Regions from separate parts of the Homo sapiens genome. Here regions 1 and 3 are each linked to region 2. Evidence: promoter capture Hi-C in 16 types of primary human blood cells and fetal thymus (Javierre and others, 2016). All regions are on one chromosome and are shown on one strand. Each heading gives the region's core, a stretch centred on a gene start or on the middle of the fragment in contact. The rest is flanking DNA. Distances are from core to core; before and after follow the strand shown.

Region 1 (4,218 bases), core at 156-2,655, 510 kb after region 2:
TAGAGATGGGGTTTCACCGTGTTAGCCAGGATGGGCTCGATCTCCTGACCTCGTGATCTGCCCACCTCAGCCTCCCAAAGTGCTGGGATTACAGGTGTGAGCCACCACGCCCAGCCTCTTTATCATTTTTTTAAAGACAGTCTTGCTTCCTCACCCAGGCTGGAGTGCAGTGGCACAATCACAGCTCACAGCAGCCTCAACCTCCTGTGCTTAAGCGATCCTCCCAGCACACCCAGCTGATTATTTTTTGTAGAGATGGGGTCTCACTACGTTGCCCAGGCTGGTCTCAAACTCCTGGGCTCAAGCAGTCCTTCTGCCTAGGCCTTCCAAAGTGCTGGAATTACAGGTGTGTGCTGCCGAGCCCTGACCTCTCTACTGATTTTGACAAATAGCTTTCTTGAAACCCTAGAGAACTAATTGTAAACAAAAAAACACGTTGGGAAGGCTGGCTGGGAATCTCCAGTAATACAGTATCTCTGGATGTAGATGCTCTGGGATGAGCCAGTAAAGAAAGCTCAGGAAGAAGCGGGGATCTGTTTTCTATATTCTTCTTATTTGAGTTGCTCTTAAGACAGTACTTAAAAAGTAAGGAAAGGGCCAGGCTCAGTGGCTTAGGCCTGTAATCCCAGCACTTTGGGAGGCCGAGGCAGGCAGATCACCTGAGGTCAGGAGTTCGAGACCAGCCTGGCCAACATGGTGAAATCTTGTCTCTACTAAGAGTATTAAAAAAATTAGCTGGGCATGGTGGTGAGCGCCTGTAATCCTAGCTCTTTGAGAGGCTGAGACAGGAGAATCGCTTGAACTCAGGAGGTGAAGGTTGCAGTGAGCTGAGAGTGCTCCATTGCACTCCAGCCTGGGCGACAAGAGCGAAACTCTGTCTCAAAAAATAAAAGTGAGTAAAGATCGAAGTCATGAGAATGCTTTACTTTAGATTTCCCCATTTGGGCGCTTTCTTTACCTAACAATTATGCCATTCTATGACTGTTCCTCTCTGAGGCCATGCTAATTAATGATAAAGGGAGGATAAGCTTGCAGTAGGTAGAGATCAGTTAGAAGCTATGCTGACCCTTTCGGCTCATAGCAGAAGGATCAGGTGGATAATAGTCAGTGCTGTTTTATTTTTTGGCCAGATCTCATGCCAGTAATCCCAGCACTTTGGGAGGTCAAGGCAGGTGGATCGCTTGAGCCCAGGGGTTCAAGACCAGCATTGGCAACATGGCAAAAACCCTTCTCTACCGAAAATACAAAAATTAGGCAGTCTCATAACCTGGTCTCTAAATAAGCAAATAAATAGATTAAACTTTTCAAAAAGAAATGCTATTTATTTTTCTAAGACAAATTTTATATATATATATATATATATATATATATATATATATATATATTTTTTTTTTTTTTTTTTTTTTTTTTTTTTTTTGAGATGGAGTCTCGCTCTGTCACCAGGCTGGAGTGCAGTGGCGCGATCTCGGCTCACTGCAACCTCCGCCTCCCGGGTTCAAGCAATTCTCCTGCCTCAGCCTCCCGAGTAGCTGGCACTACAGGCGAGCGCCACCATACCCAGCTAATTTTTATACTTTTAGTAGAGATGGGGTTTCGCCATATTGGCCAAGCTGGTCTCGAACTCCTGACCTTGTGATCTGCCTGCCTCAGTCTCCCAAAGTGCTGGGATTACAGGCGTGAACCACCGCACCCAGCCTTGTAGATGGACTCTAAGTGCATTCTGTCTATACATGCCAGTTTTACAGTGTTTAGAAAACTTAATGATTACACTAAGTAAGCTTCCTTTCCTAAGGATGCTAGGAATAACCAGTTTAACCTCAAATTGGTATTATTTTAAACTCAAGCGGAGACGTAACTCTTCCTTGTCTTGGATTACCTGCCATCCAGGTAATTCTTTGGCCAGTTTTGTTGATCAATTTTGTTTCATTGATACAGTGCCATCTACTGACAAAAATTGGTAATCATAAGGCTTTAAGTCTGTCAGAAGTCAAAGAGTTGGGTCCGGGCACGGTAGCTCATGCCTGTTAATTCCAGAGTTTTGGGAAACCAAAACGGGCAGATCACTTGAGGTCAGGAGTTCGAGACCAGCCTGGCCAACATGCTGAAACCCCATCTCTACTAAATATACAAAAATCAACTGGGCCTGGTGGCAGGTGCCTGTAGTCCTAGCTACTCAGGAGGCTGAGGCATGAGAATCACTTGAACCCTAGAGGCGTAGGTGAGCCGAGATAGCACCATTGCACTGCAGCCTGGGCGACAGAGGGAGACTGTGTCCCCCTCCCCCAAAAAAGTCAAATTTGGATGAAGGACTAAATAAAATAGATTTATAAGGGACTAAAATTTCAACACTGGAAAAACCCTTAGATGTTACCTAGCTTGATGATGTATTTTATAAAGGAGTAAACTCAGATTCTATTATCTTTGATAACTACAGTTCTGTTTTCCCCACACTTGTTTTCCAAATTTTTACAGGGTTCCAGTTTAGAGAATTTCATGATCATTCTGGCATTTTTATGACTCTTCCTTAGTTTTTAGAAATAAATTGGAGGCCAGGTGTGATGGCTTATGTCTGTAATCCCAGTAGGAGGCTGAGGTGGGAGGATCACTTGAGCCTGGGAGTTTGAAACAAGCCTGGGCAACATATTGAGAACTTGTCTCTACTAAAAATTTAAAAAATTAGCCAGGCATGGTGGCGCACACCTGTGGTTCCAGCTACTCAGGAGACTGAGGCAGCGGGATCACTTGAGCCCAGGAGGTCAAAGCTGCAATGAGCCATAATTACTTCACTGCATTCCATCCTAGGTGATAGAGTGAGACACTGTCTCAAAAAAGAAAAAAAGTTGTAAAATAAACTAAATACAATAAGTTAACAAGAAATTTGTGAATCGTAAGTTCAATTCAGAAAAGACTGCATAAAGAACAAGAGAACATGGCTGGGCACAGTGGCTCATGCCTGTAATCCCAGCACTTTGGGAGGCCATGGCGGGTGGATCACTTGAGGTCAGGAGTTCGAGACCAGCTTGGCCAACATGGCGAATCCCTGTCTCTACTAAAAAAACAAAAACTAGCTGGGCATGGTGGCACACACCTGTAGTCCCAGCTACTCAGGAGGCTGAGGCAAAAGAATCACTTGAACCCAGGTGGCGGAGGTTGCAGTGAGCCAAGACTGTGCCACTGCACTCCAGCCCGGCTGGAGTGAGACTCCATCTCAAAGAGGGGGAGGTGCGGGGCCGGGGCTGGAGCTGGGTTCGGTGGCTCACGCCTGTAATCCCAGCACTTTGGGAGGCCAGCACGGGTGAATCACGAAGTCACGAGTTTGAGACCAGCCTGGCAGCTTGACCAACGTTGGTGAAACCCTGTCTCTGCTAAAAATACAAAAATTAGCCGGGCGTGGTAGCTCACACCTGTAGTCCCAGCTACTCAGGAGGCTGAGACAGGAGAATCACTTGAACCCGGGAGGCAGAGGTTGCAGTGAGCCGAGATTGTGCCACTGCACTCCAGCCTGGGCTGGAGTGAGACTCCGTCTCAAAAAAAAAAAAAAAAAAAAAAGTCCAGGCACGGTGGCTCACGCTTGTAATCCCAGCACTTTGGAAAGCCAAGGCAGGCAAATCACGAGGTCAGGAGTTGAAGACCAGCCTGGCCAACGTGGTTAAACCCCGTCTCTTCTAAAAATATAGAAATTAGCCAGGCGTAATGGCGGGCACCTGTAAAACCAACTACTCGGGAGGTGGAGGCAGGAGAATCGCTTGAACCCGGGAGGCAGAGGTTGCAGTAAATTGAGATCACACCATTGCACTCCAGCCCAGCTCACAGAGTTGAGACTCCGTCTCAAAAAGACAAAAACAGACTGGGCATGGTGGCTCAGCTCTGTAATCCCAGCACTTTGGGAGGCCGAGGCAGGCGGATCATGAGGTCAGGAGATCGAGACCATCCTGGCTAACATGGTGAAACCCCGTCTCTACTAAAAATACAAAAAATTAGCTGGGCGTGGTGGCGGGCGCCGGTAGTCACAGCTACTCAGGAGGCTGAGGCAGGAAAATGGTGTGAACCCAGGAGGCGGAGCTTGCAGTGAGCTGAGATTGCACCACTGCACTCCAGCCTGGGGGCAGAGCAAGACTCCATCTCAAAAAAAAAAAACAAATTCAAATCCAGTACTTTGATGAAAAGGAAAACTTGGAATAGGAGAAAGTATGAGTCAGAGAGTAATATGTAAGTTTT
Region 2 (3,666 bases), core at 1,167-3,666:
CGCCCTTCCTTCCCGAGGAACTCGCCTCAGCCTGATCAGGCTTCCTGGTGAGAACTGAGGAGCGGACTCACTTGATGTTTCCTGGAAGCAGAGCAAAATGCTCTTGTCCCTGTCGCGTCTCATTTTGTCCATGTCCCCCGTGCACGGTTCAATGGTAGATTCGCTGTCCCCTCAGCGGGGGCCTTGAAGACTCCCTGATCCCAGACCTGTCGTCTCTCCCACCCCCTCCCCAAAGCCACTGGAAGGAGCACATACTACCTAGAAGTAAGAAGAGGAGCCTCAGAAGAAAACAAAGTTCTATTTTATTAATTTTCTATGTGTTGTGTTTGTAGTCTTGTCTTAGCTCTGGACGTGAAATACTTCGATGATGATGATGATGATGATGATGATAATAATAATAATAATAACAACAACAACAACAATAATAAAGATGTGAAAACTCGACGCTCGGTCACCTCCAATCCTCCCCTGCCATTTTTTCCTCTCTCCTCAACCCCCAGCCTCTCCATCTTTCCTGAGCCAGAATTCTTCAGCAAAGGCGAGAGCCCTGGCCCGCCGAAGCGAGCCCTGTTCGACTGGGAAGTTACAGCTGAGATAAAGGCTGGAGCGATCAGTCCTGCCCAGGCCCCAGCGCTGCGTTTCCCTGGTGCTGAGGCTCACAGCCGCTTCTCCCCGTGCAGACTTGGGGGATGGAGAGGTGCTGTGTCCCTCTCATTCTCTAGCCTTTCCTCGTGTATACACAGCACTAAGGGAGCCACTGAGGCCCCTAAAGCTCTCTGGCGGAGACGGAGCCATAGTCTGGGGGCCTCTGCAGCGCTTTTCTGTCCTCACCTTCGCAGCGACCCCTGGTCTTTGGCCCGTCCACATGGCCAGGTTTTTTCGCCAGCCTTGGCCCTCCGCTCCTGGCCTGTGGCTCTGGAGACTGAAAAATGGGGCCACTGGGTATCTCTCACCCTGCAGCTGAAGGCTCCAGGTGCCCCTTCCCACCTCAAGTAGCAGATCAGCCTCAAGTAGGAGATCAGCCTCAAGTAGGGGAATGTAAAGCCACCAGCCAGGCACAGGCCGAAGGCCACAACTTTCCCTTGCTCCTTGGAGACCCCAGGGCAGGAGGCCAGGTGATGGGGCTTTTAGTGTCATCCTCTCAACCCAGAATGGCTCATTCTCTCTCTGCTTGCACCGGCACCCAGAAGGCAAGCTGCGGTCACTGTTTTCCTTTATTCCTCCGCCCTCTCGCTTCCTTTCTTATTTTTAAAGAAAATAGTCCCCTCCTAATAGGAGACCAGCTGCGGCGGTCTCTGGCCGCCCAGCGTGCTCAGCAAAGCATGCGGGTCCTTGGAACCCCTTTTCCGGGAAGGCGGCTGCCACCAGGCAAATTCTCAAACTGCCTAGCTGCGAGTGAGGGACCTGTAGTGGGGCCTCCGAATGCAATAGCCGAGGAGGAGGGGAAGGGATCCCGCTTTACAAACTCTCAGACACATGTTACTACTCAAACTAAGCAGCAGACGCGGTGGCCGCTGCAGTCTTTTCGGCAACTAGGCCGCTTAGCCCCAGCTGTGCTCGGTTTCTGGGGTCCCTGTCCTGCTCTGTCACTCCCCACGCCTGGGCTAAGGACCACCAAGGAGGTCCGGAAGGGGATTTCGAACTTCCAAGTGGCCCAGGAGAAGTGAACGCTTCTCCTTCTTTTTCAAGCCTCCCGCCCAGCCCTGCCGGCTCGGCCTGGGCGCTGTGGACCGGTAACAGCAGTTCCACCAGGATGCAGGCCGGACTAAGCTCCTGGGGAAAACCCGTTGCAATAATTGTTTTTCACACACAACTTCCAACCCTTCCCCCATTTCCGCCTCCAATTCGGAGACTTGCAAAGCCCAAGAAAGGGAAAAGCAACTCTATCTTTGATCTTCTCATCCAAAGTTAAAATAATAACGACAATGATGATGTAGGGAGAAAGAACCAAATAGAGAGGCTAACCCCACCCACAAGAAAGTGGGTAAAAAGCCCAACCCCTGCTCTAAAAGGCTCAACCCTGTGGCTGAGCCTTGGCCGGGTTTCTTTCTCTCCCGGCGACTGCAGGGAGCCTGCAGGGAGCCAGCAGGGAGGCAGCCGCCCGCCGCCATGGCGGTCTCACGCCCGCGCTCCCGTCGGTCGCCGGGAGGTGGCGCGCTCTGCTCAGAGGCCAAAGCCAACCTTCTCTCTGTTTCTCCCCCTTCTCCTTTTTTCCCCCTCTCTCGGAGGCTCGCATTGAATCGGCCCTAACGATTCTCGGATCGTCATTATTTGTAACCATAGAGCATGAATTACCTCTTGAGGTCATCAGCGAGAATTTACGACTGGTCAACAAAAGCACGTGATTCCCTAACGCCCCCCACCCCCCTTCCAACCCCCCCCCCATATTTGGCCGCATACATAGCAAAACGAAGTACAGTGCATCGCTATAATTCATTAATACATCATAAATCGTGAAGCACAGGGTTATAACGACCACGATCCACAAATCAAGCCCTCCAAAATCACCCAAATGAGCTCGTACTTTGTAAACTCCTTCTCGGGGCGTTATCCAAATGGCCCGGACTATCAGTTGCTAAATTATGGCAGTGGCAGCTCTCTGAGCGGCTCTTACAGGGATCCCGCTGCCATGCACACCGGCTCTTACGGCTACAATTACAATGGGATGGACCTCAGCGTCAACCGCTCCTCGGCCTCCTCCAGCCACTTTGGGGCGGTGGGCGAGAGCTCGCGCGCCTTCCCCGCGCCCGCCCAGGAGCCCCGCTTCAGGCAAGCGGCTTCGAGCTGCTCCCTGTCCTCGCCCGAGTCCCTGCCCTGCACCAACGGCGACAGCCACGGCGCCAAGCCCTCTGCTTCGTCCCCCTCCGACCAGGCGACCTCAGCCAGCTCCAGCGCCAATTTCACCGAAATAGACGAGGCCAGCGCGTCCTCGGAGCCTGAGGAAGCGGCAAGCCAGCTAAGCAGCCCCAGCCTAGCTCGGGCGCAGCCAGAGCCCATGGCCACCTCCACAGCCGCGCCCGAGGGGCAGACTCCGCAAATATTCCCCTGGATGAGGAAGCTTCACATCAGCCATGGTAATTCTCTCTCTCTTTTTTGTCTTCTCGGCTTTCCTTCTCTGCGTTTTGGGGTGGGATCGGGGGGACAAGGAGAGCTTGGCTTTACCCTAAATATAGATTCATTTTTCTAAGGGGGAGAAGTATCTAAGAGGGGCCTCATAGCTTCGTAGACAGAGCCAAAAAGGGTCTCTCTGTTAAGAGGGGGGTATTTTTAATAATTTGTTTCCAGCTTCGGCTTAGGTTTTTATTAGCGCAGCTGAACCAGCTTTAGGATAAAGGATGGGGTTCATATAATGTGGGGAAGGGTCCTGCTTACCCCTGAAATTTTGAGACTGTCGCTAGCAAAGAAGGGGTGAACAGTAAAAGGAGCTTTCCGGGGCAAAAGTGCAACCGCTCTCCTCCCTCCCGGGGCGAGCGGCCGCCTGAGCCCAGCCAAGGGTGAGGCACTAGGAGCGAGCAAGAGACAAAGCCGGGCGCACTGGCTGCCTGCAGAAGTGGGGGATGCAGTAGAAAGGGGTGCAGAAATCGAGCTTGAATGTGGGCATCTGGAGTAGAGAGGATTGGAGCTGTGGTGAGCTGGGTGCCGGGACGCCTGGGTCCTGCTCCCCCG
Region 3 (4,139 bases), core at 938-3,437, 570 kb after region 2:
GTGTGTGTGTGTTTTGAGATGGAGTCTCACTCTGTCGCCCAGGCTGGAGTGCAGTGGCGTGATCTTGGCTCACTGCAACCTCTGCCTCCTGGGTTCAAGCAATTCTCCTGCCTCAGCCTCCCGAGTAGCTGGGATTATAGGCGTGCGCCACCATTACCGGCTAATTTTTTTTGTATTTTCAGTAAAGACGGGGTTTCACCATATTGGCCAGGCTGGTCTCGAACTCTTCACCTTGTGATCCTCCCACCTTAGCCTCCCAAAGTGCTAGGATTGCAGGCGTGAGCCACTGTGCCTGGCCTAAAAGGGAAGATTTAAAAAAAAAATTTTTTTTTTTTAGACAGAGTCTCACTGTGATGCCCAGGCTGGAGTGCAGTGGCGCAATCTTGGCTCACTGCAACCTCTGCCTCCCGGGTTGAAGCGATTCTCCTGCCTCACCCTCCCAATTAGCTGGAATTACAATGTGTGCCACCATGCCTGGCTGATTTTTGTACTTTTACTAGAGACAGGGTTTCGCCATGTTGGCCAGGCTGGTCTGGAACTCCTGACCTCAGGTGATCCACCCGCCTCGGCCTCCCAAAGTGCTGGGATTACAGGCATGAGCCACCGTGCCCAGCCTTAAAAAAAAAAAAAAAGGGAGGAAGTAGGGGAGAAGGTAGATGCTGATTTTTGGAGTTTCATTTCTTTTATGCAGGGCATGACCCCATGCCATAAAATAACAGTGCAACAAGATAAGAACCCCCAGGGCCTCTCTTCCTAACTCTTTTCACAGGGAATCCAATCCTATACCCAGAAAGTGAAGTGAACTTTCAAGAGCTCTGAGTTTTGAGAGTCCCTGCTTTTGACAACCTGATCATCCTAGACCAGACTGTTCTTATCCAGTTTCAAAGATTTTGCCCAGGGATGACAAAGCATGTGGACCACTGGGTTGAAGCATCAAAGAATCAGAGCTGAGGGCTCTCCATGCTGAGGGAGAGTTCTGACTTGAGGGCTATCAGTGGGAAGGGACCTGGAAGGTGGAGATGTTGCAGGATGCCTTCGGAGAGGGAAGAGGCTTGGCAAGGAGAAGGGGCGGAGGGGAGGATTGTGCCACTGATTTGCCTCCTGGTTTTTCCTCTCATCTTGTAGTGTGATTCTGGAGAGTGACCCCCAGCAAGTGATCCAGAAGGTGAATTTTAGGGTAAGAGTCTTCCTGGACACCTCCTCTTTTAGGCTGCCCTTCCTGTCCTCCCTGGGAATAGGGCTGCTAGGGCCTAGATGGTAGAAGCCCAAGCTCCTCTAGCAGAAGCCAACCACTGGGCTGACACACTTGTTAGGGGTGAGATGAGCAGCAGTTTCTGGGTGGGATGCCAGTTAATGGAAGAAATCTTCCTGTCCTCTCCCCGGCTAGGAGCACAAGTACCTCACCTCTTTCCTGGTAGGAAGTATAGACTGGGGAAATAAATACATCTTCAAAGAGGCACTAGGTGGCTGCCTTGGCCTTGAGGTTGGGGGTCAGGGGTATGGATAGAACCTCCCTGCCTTGTTTGGCTTTCTCATGTCTGGATGAAACCTTTCTTCCCATCTTTCTTCCCATCTTCCCTCACCCTCCACGCACCATAGCACAATCCCAGAGGTCCTGGCTTCCAAATGACAGGCTGCAGGACTTCTATTAACCAGTGACACAGGTGCAGCTCTGAATCACCCTAACCACTGCACCACCTCACCCATACCCCCAAGCCCCTTTCCTTCACCTCCCTGACCCAGGACCCTCATGCTGGCCCTACCCCACCCCTTGACTCTGCTTCCTTACAGGCAGATGATGGCGGCTTGACTGAACAGAGTGTGGCCCAGGTAGGCCCCCCTGCATCTGCCTTGGCTAGAAATGGTCTAGAGAGATACGGGGAGCAGAGCATCCTAGAGCATCCTAGGGGGACCCAGTGAAGTTATCAAGTCTGAAAAATCAGGGGTGAGAAGGGAAGGGATGAGGCAGTGACAGGTCATATCTTGGAAAGACTCACTGGAGGCCTCCGGGCTCTCCAACTCAGGGGAGCTGGGTACTAATGGATGGATGGGCATGTTACCATCAGCCCACCTCATCTCCTGGCTTGGTTTAGTTGGATTGAAACTAGGATGAGCTGCCTACCTTGGAGATGGCTGGGTCACTTGTGCACCCCAAAAATCTGGGAACTCAGGCCTCTGATGCGCCCTCTACCGAAACCTGGAAAGGGTACCAAATAGGAGTTTGGCTCTTAACCCCTGTCCTTGCCACTTAGGGTGCACACTGGGATTGTTAAGGGACTCTCAAACCCATGATAGGATCTGACTTTCCCCACTCATCACTTGTCACCTTACCCCTGAGTGACCTGGCTATGGAAGAACCTGCCACAACCCTGCATGGTCTTATCTGGAGGTGCTTGCAGAGCGTAAGGCCAGGGGGAGGTTCCTGGCTCTGAAGCCTGATCAGTTCCCCAGCTGCACAAACTTCCTGCTAGTTCAGGACGACTGTCTTGACCTCTCTTCTGTCCACCTGCAGGTCTCTCTGCTCAGACTAATCCTGCTTGTATGGAACTTCCCGCCCTGGCGCTAACTCCTCGTGCTGTGGTGGCCCTACCGAGATGAGCCTGTGCTGTCTCGTGTGGAGTCCCAGGTGTGGCGCCCATTTTCCTGCACTGCCCTTAGCGCTCACTCTGCTTCGCCCTCCCCTCTGATTCCCCATGTTTCCTCATACCATGCTGGAATGAATGCAGCTGCAAGGCAATTTTTAGAGTGGAAAGAGGGTAGGGAGTAATAAGCAGAGCAGATAAGAACACAGGTGCTCATGGGAGTCATCCCAGGGTACGTGTTCTACCTTACCACCTAAAGCTGGGTGACCTAGGGCAAGTTACTCAACCTCTCTGGGCCTCACATAATAACAGGACCCTCTTCATGGAGTTATGAGAATTCAATGAGCCAATGCGTGACAAGCTCTTAGTAGGGCTCCAAGCCAGTTAACACATGCTGAATAACCATCAGTATTTCTCCAAAGGGAGAAAGAATGAAAACATAGCATTTTTGATGGAATTCTTGAGTAAAAACAAAGGAAGCTACAGGTAGCCAATGGGGGATAAAATGAGGACAAAGTTAGATTCTGGCTAGGAGAATCAGGGGAACCCTAAGCCACTGTCCCCAAGAGAGGAGGGAGACTGTGCAGGAGGAGGAGACACAGCGTTCCCTCCTTCTCTAGAGGGGAATAAGGCTGAGTGGCTGGAGGGACAATCTGAGGGACACACCTGAGTCCTGTCCCCCTCTCCTGCTTTGGTATTGTGCATGCACGTGTGCACTTATATGGATTTGTGTAAGCACTGGGCTGAGACTTTCCACCAGGCATCCCACCGCAGGGTCTGGCTGGCCACCCTTTGCCAGCTATGCCACATCAGCAGTGGGTTGCGGTGGGGTGTTGAGGACACATTGCCAGCCATGGCCAGAGCTAGGGGTTTGCTGAGGCGTCTGAGCACAGGGAGTGTCAGGCCTGGGCCCCGTCTCCGCCTGGACGTGGCACTGTGGGCGGGAACTCTCATGGCATGACAGCGGGGAGACAGGCTGCTGCCACACCCACGCTGCAGATGCAGGAGCCAGAGGTCTGGGCAGGCTTGGGCCTGAGGTGGGAGCTGGCTGCAGCCGGTTTGGTCTGCGCTTTCTGACTTGGAGGGTTGGCCGCGTTTAAGCCAAGTGGAGACAAGCTGCTGCCACCTAGTGACCGGTGGTTGCAGGGGCGCTTCGGCAAGGTGGGCTGTGGACCTCCCCATGACTGTGTATGGAGGCATTTGACATTCTCAATTCTCTCTCAACCTCCCCCACCCCACCCCAGGTTCTTCAGTCTGCCAAGGAACAAATTAAATGGTCGTTATTGAAATGAAGGCTGTGGATTCAAGGCTCCCTGCCCCCCAGATCATTTCCCCAATCCTGGCAAAAGCCCAAAGATCCCAGGGTCAGGAGAGACCCCTCTGTATCCCCAGGTCCCTCCCAGAACTGACTCCTAAGGTCTCCAGCCAGGGCTTCTGAGATGCAAAGGTTTGGCCTCAGGAGAGTCACCTTTTCTCACGGCCCTGGCCTTAACTCATATCTTAGGCATTCCTGGCCCCAGGGCCCTAATAAACCTGCTTTTGTCTTCTGCCAAGGGT

What was found. The method cuts DNA at HindIII sites, captures the fragments that hold promoters and counts their contacts. A CHiCAGO score of 5 or more calls a contact.
Region 1: a fragment that was not itself captured here is called in contact with the fragment with the promoter of HOXB5 in region 2 in 1 of 17 cell types (total CD4 T cells); the score reaches 7.3 in total CD4 T cells.
Region 3: a contact is called between a fragment that was not itself captured here and the fragment with the promoter of HOXB5 in region 2, in 4 of 17 cell types (erythroblasts, naive B cells, fetal thymus and 1 more). The highest score is 6.2, in erythroblasts.

What each region holds. Positions count from the first base shown.
Region 1 is chr17:48,078,119-48,082,336 of GRCh38, reverse strand. All of the region lies in intron 1 of CBX1 (chromobox 1), which reads left to right. Among named protein-coding and RNA genes, the nearest start is that of CBX1, 21 kb to the left of the region's middle. The HindIII fragment of the contact is 750 bases long and covers 1,031-1,780 here.
Region 2 is chr17:48,592,529-48,596,194 of GRCh38, reverse strand. HOXB5 (homeobox B5) reads left to right here and starts at 2,416. Exons shown (of 2, transcript NM_002147.4): 1 at 2,416-3,074. The coding sequence starts at 2,513. The region is part of intron 1 of HOXB-AS3 (HOXB cluster antisense RNA 3); the gene reads right to left. It overlaps HOXB6 (homeobox B6), which reads left to right. Exons shown (of 4, transcript NM_018952.5): 4 at 1-444. RefSeq lists enhancers at 1-430, 1,473-1,978, 2,208-2,277, 1,979-2,486 and a silencer at 2,743-2,792. The HindIII fragment of the contact is 5,828 bases long and covers 1-3,060 here.
Region 3 is chr17:48,026,163-48,030,301 of GRCh38, reverse strand. It overlaps COPZ2 (coat protein complex I subunit zeta 2), which reads left to right. Exons shown (of 9, transcript NM_016429.4): 7 at 1,126-1,177; 8 at 1,792-1,830; 9 at 3,827-4,135. The coding sequence ends at 3,874. Among named protein-coding and RNA genes, the nearest start is that of MIR10226, 4.6 kb to the left of the region's middle. RefSeq lists a silencer at 2,309-2,575 and enhancers at 2,959-3,515, 3,516-4,074. The HindIII fragment of the contact is 4,814 bases long and covers 1-4,139 here.